Regions from separate parts of the Homo sapiens genome. Here all the other regions are linked to region 2. Evidence: promoter capture Hi-C in human tissues and cell types (Jung and others, 2019). All regions are on one chromosome and are shown on one strand. Each heading gives the region's core, a stretch centred on a gene start or on the middle of the fragment in contact. The rest is flanking DNA. Distances are from core to core; before and after follow the strand shown.

Evidence for each region. Contacts are between HindIII fragments. The study calls those that stand out against the background at their distance.
Region 1: a fragment that was not itself captured here is called in contact with the fragment with the promoter of C1orf216 in region 2 in 2 of the 25 tissues and cell types used here (dorsolateral prefrontal cortex and spleen).
Region 3: a fragment that was not itself captured here is called in contact with the fragment with the promoter of C1orf216 in region 2 in 2 of the 25 tissues and cell types used here (H1 embryonic stem cells and hippocampus).

The regions. Positions count from the first base shown.
Region 1 is chr1:35,582,625-35,585,324 of GRCh38, reverse strand. All of the region lies in intron 3 of TFAP2E (transcription factor AP-2 epsilon), which reads right to left. Among named protein-coding and RNA genes, the nearest start is that of TFAP2E-AS1, 6.1 kb to the right of the region's middle. The HindIII fragment of the contact is 9,807 bases long and covers 1-2,700 here.
Region 2 is chr1:35,717,497-35,720,196 of GRCh38, reverse strand. C1orf216 (chromosome 1 open reading frame 216) reads left to right here and starts at 1,313. Exons shown (of 2, transcript NM_152374.2): 1 at 1,313-1,490. RefSeq lists a silencer at 1,152-1,581. The HindIII fragment of the contact is 4,693 bases long and covers 1-2,700 here.
Region 3 is chr1:35,850,174-35,852,873 of GRCh38, reverse strand. It overlaps AGO4 (argonaute RISC component 4), which reads right to left. Exons shown (of 18, transcript NM_017629.4): 16 at 2,616-2,700; 17 at 1,821-2,020. Among named protein-coding and RNA genes, the nearest start is that of AGO1, 32 kb to the left of the region's middle. The HindIII fragment of the contact is 6,144 bases long and covers 1-2,700 here.

The DNA of each region.
Region 1 (2,700 bases), core at 103-2,602, 130 kb after region 2:
GCTGATTTTTGAAACTAGGATTCTGGATTTTTCTGTGAAATCTCTGGAGTTTTAAGCATTGGCAATGATTCAAAGATTTAAAAACCCAGCACAGGCCAAATGGAACAAGTGTGAAGTGCCTCCTGGGATGTAGTGACTCCCAGGGTGTGAGCTCTTTGAGCCCCACAGTGCTCCTTCGGTTCTCAGGGGTCCTGCTCCACTCTACTGAGTTTAGGCACCAACCCCTGTGCAGAGCTTCTCTCCCCTGCCCCCCAGCTCCCTCTCACCCCCATCCCTGGCCTTACCGCACTGAACCTTCCTGGTCTGTTTCCATGGGTGTCTTCCCTACCAAGCATGAGTGTGTGGAGGGCAGGGTCTTGGCACAGGTGGCCATGAGTGAATATGAAATAAGCTAATGATGCAAGGGCTCTGGGAACCCGAACTGAACTATACTGTATGTATAAAAAAATTATACCTCGAGCTTGACTTCAAACAAATAAAACTACAAATGAGGCCAGGCACGGTGGCTCACACCTGTAATCCCAGCACTTTGGGAGGCCGAGGTGGGAGGATTGAGCCCAGGAGTTCAAGACCAGCCTGGGCAATACAATGAGACCTTGTCTCTACAAAAAATACAAAAATTAGCCCGGCGTGATTGCACATGCCTGCAGTCCCAGCTACTCTGGAGGCTGAGGTAGGAGGATTGCTTGAGCCCAAGAGGCAGAGGTTGCAGTGAGCTGACCATGCCAGCCTGGGTGGCACAGTGAGACCCTGTCTCAAAAACAAAAACAAAAACAAAAACAAAAAATTGATAAATTAAAAATAAAAAGAAGGGCAAAGTAACTGTCTTCCCTCCCATCACCCCTCACCAGAAGTAGGGGTTGGAGAAAAAGGATGAGCAGCCTTCTCCATCCAACTGCTATTAAAACCTAGGGCCCAGGCTGGCTGAGCATGGTAACTCACACCTGTAATCCCAACACTTTGGGAAACTGAGGCAGGAGGATCACTTGAGCCCAGAAGTTTGAGACCAGCCTGGGCAACATAGTGAGACCTCATCTCTACAAAAAAAAATTTTTTTAAGTTAGCCAGGCATGGTGGCATGTGCCCATAGTCCCAGCTGCTCGGAAGGCTGAGGCCACAGAATGACTGAGCCCAGTTTGAGGCTGCAGTGAGCTATGATTGCACCACTGCACTCCAGCCTGGACGACAGAGCGAAACTCCATCTCAAAAAAAATAAAAAAGGATGACTGTATACAAGAACTGTATGCCCTTGTGATAAATACAGCAATGAGGATGAGCTGGAGTATGGAGGAATGTGGTAGCCTAGATATGGATATTTGCAAGTGCTTTCTCCTGTTGATGCCAGATTTATGCAAACATAGGTGCTGCTAGATATAAGGGCAGAGATGACATTGCTCATGTGTTTGTGTATATGAGTGACTGACCTTGCTGCTTCCCCCACCTGTCCCTTTTTTTCTCAGAGCTTCTTCCCTTGAAAATGGCAAGAGGGATGGAATCCATGGTTAGGGAAGCAGGTCGGTCACAGAAGGGCAGTGGTGGAGGTAGGAATTAAACTAGCACACAGGGCAAAGCAGAGACACTAAAGTTTGTCTCCCACACACACAGAACAGGATTCCCTGTGGTGACTCCTGAAGCTGAAGTGATCTAATGGTGTCCTGCTGGTCACATATGCAGAAGCCATTCACACACACACACACACACACACACACACACACACACACTCCTGCAGACACAAGAGCTCCCGGTTATTCAACCTGTCAGACAAGGCACTCTGTCCGCAGGTGGTAGATATGGTCTGACTTCTGAACCTAGGCAAGTGTGCAACAGACTCTCCAAGAAGCCTTGTTAAAGTTGCAAGTTTTTTCTAGAAGAAAACATGGAAGGCCAGGCGTCCTGGCTTACACCTGTAATCCTACCACTTTGGAAGGCAAGGCGGGTGGATCATTTGAGGTCAGGAGTTTGAGACCAGCCTGGACAACATGGGAAAACCCCATCTCTACTAAAAATACAAATAACAACAACAACAACAACAGAAAACTTAGGAGAAAAATCTTCGTGACCTCAGGTTGAGCAAAGAGTTCCTAGATACAACACCAAAAGCAAGGCCCATAAAAGAAAATGATAGGCCAGGTGTGGTGGCTGACTCCTGGAATCCCAGCACTTTGGGAGGCTGAAGCGGGCAGATCACCTGAGGTCAGGAGTTTAAGAGCAACTTGGCCAACATGGTGAAACTGTCTCTACTAAAAATACAAAAATTAGCCCAGCATGGTGGCACTCACCTGTAATCCCAGCTACTTGGGAGGCTGAGGCAGGAGAATCGCTTGAACCCGGGAGGCGGAAGTTGCAGTGAGCTGAGATAGCGCCACTGCACTCCAGCCTGGGCGACAGAGTGAGACTGGTCTCAAAAAAAAAAGAAAGAAAGAAAGAAAGAAAATGATGATAAACTGGACTTCATCAAAGTCTAAAACTTTTGCACCTCAAAAGATATTATTAAGAAAATAGCATGGTATGGTAGCATGAGAATGTAGTCCCAGTTACTCGAGAGGCTCAGGCAGGGGGATCACTTGAGTTCAGGAGTTCGAGGGTGCAGTGTGCTATGATCTTGCCTGTAAATAGCCACCAAACTCCAGCTTGAACAACTTAGTGAGACCTATCTCTAAAAAGTTTTTTAATTAAAAAAAAAAAAGAGAGCAGTTGCTC
Region 2 (2,700 bases), core at 64-2,563:
GGATTTCTTGGTGTGATTTAATTTGCCAATTAGTCTCTAGGTTGCAGAATGGTGACTTGGAATCAAATTGAAACTGGAAGAGGGCACCTCATATATTAGGGTCAGCAATTACTGAACTCTGTTCTCTTTTATTCCAAACAGGGCCCCCAACTTCACATTTCCCCAGGGTGCAAAAGAGTGAGGGGGGTCAAGCTTCAGTAGAGTGGAGCTCTGAGAAGAATCCACTGGAGTTTGGAACCCAAGACCCTTTTTTATCACGCTGTTCCTCCTCACCTGGGCAAAAGCACTGGTACCCACTTCACAGGCATCATGGGTGGGCTCTGTGTCCTGCGGAGAGCCCCCGTCCCGGGTACAGGACATCAGCCCTGAGCCCTGTCCCAGGCTTGGATCTTCTTTCTCTCTCTCTCTTTTTTTTTTTTTTTTTTTTTTTTTTTTTGAGACGGAGTCCCACTCTGTTGCCCAGACTGGAGTGCAGTGGTGCAGTCTTGGCTCACTGCAACCTCCACCTCCCAGGTTCAAGCGATTCTCCTGCCTCAGCCTCCCAAGTAGCTGGGATTACAGGCGCCCGCCACCAAGCCCGGCTAATTTTTGTATTTTTAGTAGAGATGGGGTTTCACCATGTTGGCCAGGCTGGTCTCAAACTCCTGACCTCAGGTTATCTGCCCGCCTCGGCCTCCCAAAGTGCTGGGGTTACAGGCGTGAGCCACCGCACCCGGCCTCAGTGACTTTAGTCAAGTAAGCACAAAAAGGAATATATAATTCCAAATTGTGATAAATGCTATGAAGAAAAGGAATGTGCTCTGACATAAAGGGGGGAACGAACGTGATCTAGGGAGTCAGAGATCTCTCCGAGAAGAGATCTGAAATAGGAGTAAGTCGAGAGGGGGAAGAGAATGCTAGACCGAGGGAACAGTGCGTGCCAAAGCCGCGTGGCGGAAAGGGGCGTGTGGGAGGGTAACTGCGGAGAGGGAGGGTAGAGGACGAAGCCGGAGAGGCAGACGAAGGGCAGGACGCACAGAGCCCCGCGGCTACCGCCTTAGGGGTTGTCCCGGCGGTGGGGAAGCCATTGAGGAGTTTAACGCCGGAAGGTGGTGACTAATCAGATTTCACTTGAAAATGGCACGGTGTCTGCAGCGAGGCTAACTGATGGGAAGGGCCCAGCGAATGCCAATAGGAGAGAGCACCGGACCTGGAAGGCCTGGGTCAACGCGGCCCCGCGCGGGGGCGAAGCGGTTCCGGCGCAGGGGCCTGGCGCGGGGCTCCGCGGAAAACCGAACCGGCCCACGTGGGACCGGTCGCTCCGCCCTGCTGCGCAGACGCCGCCTGACTCCGCAGTCCGGGACTGGGGCTGGGCGCGCTGCCCGGGAGCCCCGCACCCACGCCTGGACCGCGGAGACGCCCAGGCCGAGGAACCCCCAGCCCAGGGACTAGACACCACCAGGGCCGGGCGGAGCCAGAGCCAGACGCGCCGGAGCGGGCGCCTCTACGCCGTGAGTCCGAGTCTGGGGCCCGAGGCGGGGTGGGGCTTGGGGCTCAGCCGCGGGAAGCGGGGAGTCACAGTGGCCTCCTTCGAGGAGACTAGGGAAGGATGGTCTCTGTCTCCTGGGGTGGTCTCCCACTCCCGCAAGGCCAGAAAAGGAGGCTGCCTCCTGTTTGGGCGGAGACCTAGTCCTGGCGTGTCGGGGTTCTCATTTTACTATCTCTGAGAACCCTGTGATCCCTAGCGCCACCCCCACCCCATCCCAGCTTCCTTCACGGCCCCATCCAAGTATAGGAAAAATAAAAAATTGGGGCGAGGGGAGATCTCTAGGCACCTTCCCACAAGCCTTGCTTAGAGGGCGATTAGAAACGAACTGTTCCTACACCCTTCTCCCCAGGACTTCTCTGCCCATTGCTGGGGGTGGGGAGGGTCCATGCCACCTATGGAGCGCCTTCCAGTGCCGGCTCCACTTACAATACCCTTCCTCTTCATGCTCTTCAATTGTTCTAATCCCAGTGCTGTTTGGTCAGTAGAATCCCTTTGTCAGTTCAAATCCTAATTTTGGTTAGAAGCAGGTTATGGAGGAGAGAAGAGTGGTGTGGTATGCCCTCCCTCCAGGGCCTCAGAATGGAGCAAGCTAGGGACGGGGACCGCAAGATAGTGGCTGTGTTCCAGAGGCATTGGGAGGGAAGGGGGCAGGCTCAGAAGAAAAGCTTGTCACTGGGGAAGGCGGGGCTCCCTGGCTGGGGTAGGAAAGGGAACCAAACCCAGCTCTTCCAGAACCCAGCTCTTCCAGCCCTGGGGAGTCAAGAGTGGATTCCTGAGCATGGAAATTCACTGCAGTCTCTTCTCCCATTCACTCACTTAGCAAGTACCTGTATGCACAGACAGCCTGGTTCAGGGCTCTATGCTGGCTGACTCTGGGGAATATGATGGAGGATATATACAGGAGGTCCAAGCCAGATTACAAACTGCTATTACAAGATCATTACCACAAACCAAAAATGCCAGTTGAATAGACATTCACTGATCGTCGACCATGTATGCCAGGGACGGATGCAAAGTTGGATAAGACAGTGTATACCCAGCGCAGTGGGGACCCAGAGGAAGGCATAACTAACCGTGCTTGTTTATGTAATATTGATTGGGGCAGTATCAAGACGGCTTCAGAGACATGGGGACATGGAAACATGGGGATATTACAGCTAATTTTGAAGTAC
Region 3 (2,700 bases), core at 121-2,620, 130 kb before region 2:
CCCACTATGTCTGGCTAATTTCTTTAGGCTTCAGTCAAATGTCATTTTTCTGCACAGAAATCTTCTTTGACTTTAAGGTCCAGGTCAGAGCCACCTGGAACATGCTTTAACAGAATCCTATATTTTTCTTTCATGGTACTAAACACAATTGAAATTAAATTATTACTTGGGTAATTATTTATTTTCCCACTGGGATATAAACTCCAAGAAAGCAGCAATTTTGTCCACCTTGCTCACCACTGTATCCTTGGTGTCTAGCACATAATACAACAAAGTCTCAATAAACCATTAGTTGAATGAATGCATCTACGTACCTAGCATAGTGATGGAACATAGGAAATTCCCAGCAAATGCTATTGTGCCACCAGTCTCTTCTTGTCTTCCCTTCACTAACTATATAACCTTGGACACATAATAACTCCTCTGAACTTTGGTCTTTCGGAGTAACAACAACAACTTCTAAACATACTACTTAAGGATACCATGTGATATAAAGGGCTTGACAAGCTGTAAATCCCCATCCCTCTTCTGACTTTCTCTTTAAGTGATTATTATCCTTATCATCTAGGCTCAAAATCTTAGCCATCTTTTACTTCACCCTCTCCTCTGACATGCATATCCAATTAACTGTTAAGTCCTGTCTATTCTATCCTAGGAACAGCATTTTACATTTAACAAACACGGTCTTGCTTTAACATATTTTTCCAGCCTCATACCTGCTTGTTCCCCTTTAATATCCTCCAGCCAAAGAAAATTTGCTACTGTACAAACATGCCACTTGCTTTTTCCCCTTTGTGTCCCTTGTTCTCTCTGCCCTGAAAATTCTTTTCTCTTTTTTGTAGAGCCATTCTATCCATCCAGCTATGAAATCTTCTCTAAAAGCCTCTCCTCTGGTGTCCCATTGCACTTTTATCTGTACTGACTTGGGCTACTTGTCAGTTGTATATTTGCCTGTATTGTCTCCCATACTGAAACATAAAATCCCCGTGGACAAGAAACATGTCTTACTCATCTTAGTAATTCTAGCACCTAGCACAGTACTAGGCACACAGTCAATACCTAATAAATATGCCGAATAAATGAAAGCACATTACGGAATGGAAGGTACAAAGCCACAGTTGGACATTTTCCATAATAGTGTATTTTCAACCCTTACAGAAATAGACTTGCAGTGGAATGTCTACTATTTAGCAGCTGAATTCAGACTTGGGGAAGAGCCCAGAAACTGCTACACTTCACAGATGGTCATTTGGAAAAGAAAATTAATGCAGAGAGCTTGTGTAACTATTTAATAGTAGCTCAGGAATAGGTCAAAATAACAGATTCTCTGATTCTCCTGAGATGCCTATTTGAGAGTGAGAATCATCTGTGCCCCCACTCCCACACACACATCCAGGTTCACTCTGGGGTATTTTTCCAGAATGTACCAAAAGCAAAGTGAACTGGTCAGGCCTCCTCACTTGCATGAAGTGGAATCCACAGCCCTGTGACTACTTTGACCGGAGCCAGGGTACTGTGTTGACCACTTTTTGAGGCTACTTAGGACCTGAGCAGAACTGAAATGCATTTGGCTCCATGGGAGAACCACAAGCAGCTCCAAATTAAACTCCTTTAGAGACACAACACAAGTATAAACAAGCCTGAGCACTTCTTGGACCAAAAGTCACATTACAAGCTCTCAGAGGCACATGCAATTTTATTTGCTTCTTACAATTTAAACTCTGAAAGTTTAAATCCTTAAAAAAGTTTTCTATTGTAGCTCATTTTTTTTAACATGCTACTAAAATATAAAGAGACTTTATTGTGCCTAAGAAACTTGCCTGTCATGATCTTTATCCACCAGATGATACCTTGCCCTAAATGCTACAAGCCGGGCATAATATGCAGGGGCTGGAATAGAGACTGAGCGAGTGCACCTCACATAGGTGTGACACAGCTGGTAAGTCAGTAGCTGGAGTTCATCTGCAGTGAAGCAGTTGTCATCCCACAAGACCTGGTAATGTGAGGGACGGCTGGTTCCCTGAGGAGAGAGTTTTATGATTAATGTTTTTTTTTTGTTCGTTTTTTGTTTTTGTTTTTTTTTTTTTTTTTTTGAGATGGAGTCTCACTCTGTCACCTAGGCTGGAGTGCAGTGGTACGATCTTGGTTCACAGAAACCCCCGCCTCTGGACTTCAAACAATTCTCCTGCCTCGGCCTCCCAAGTAGCTGGGACTATAGGTGCACGCCACCATGCCCAGATAATTTTTGTTTTTTTTAGTAGAGATGGGGTTTCACCACATTGGTCAGGCTGGTCTCAAACTCCTGACCTCAGGTGATCTGCCCATTTCGGCCTCCCAAAGTGATTGGATTACAAGCGTGAGCCACCATGCCTGGCCTGATTAATATATTTCTGACATGACACGAGAAGAGAAAATAATTGAAACCTACTCCTTAAACTCAGAAATACTTCTGCCTAGCACACCTACAAGCAGATACCTAGACCAAAAGATAATTCTAGGATACAAGCATTAACAAAGTTAGGCACGGTGTTAAATAACAAGTCGACTCAAGCTAGTTGCTGAATTTGCAAACATCTCCCTATCAAGTCAAAGATCTGAACCAGCTTCCAAATTACCTGAATTCCTGCATGACTACAGAGGTAAAAGTCAAACTCAGATGGATGTGTGATGGTACTATCCACTGTAGTGCCTGCTGGTACA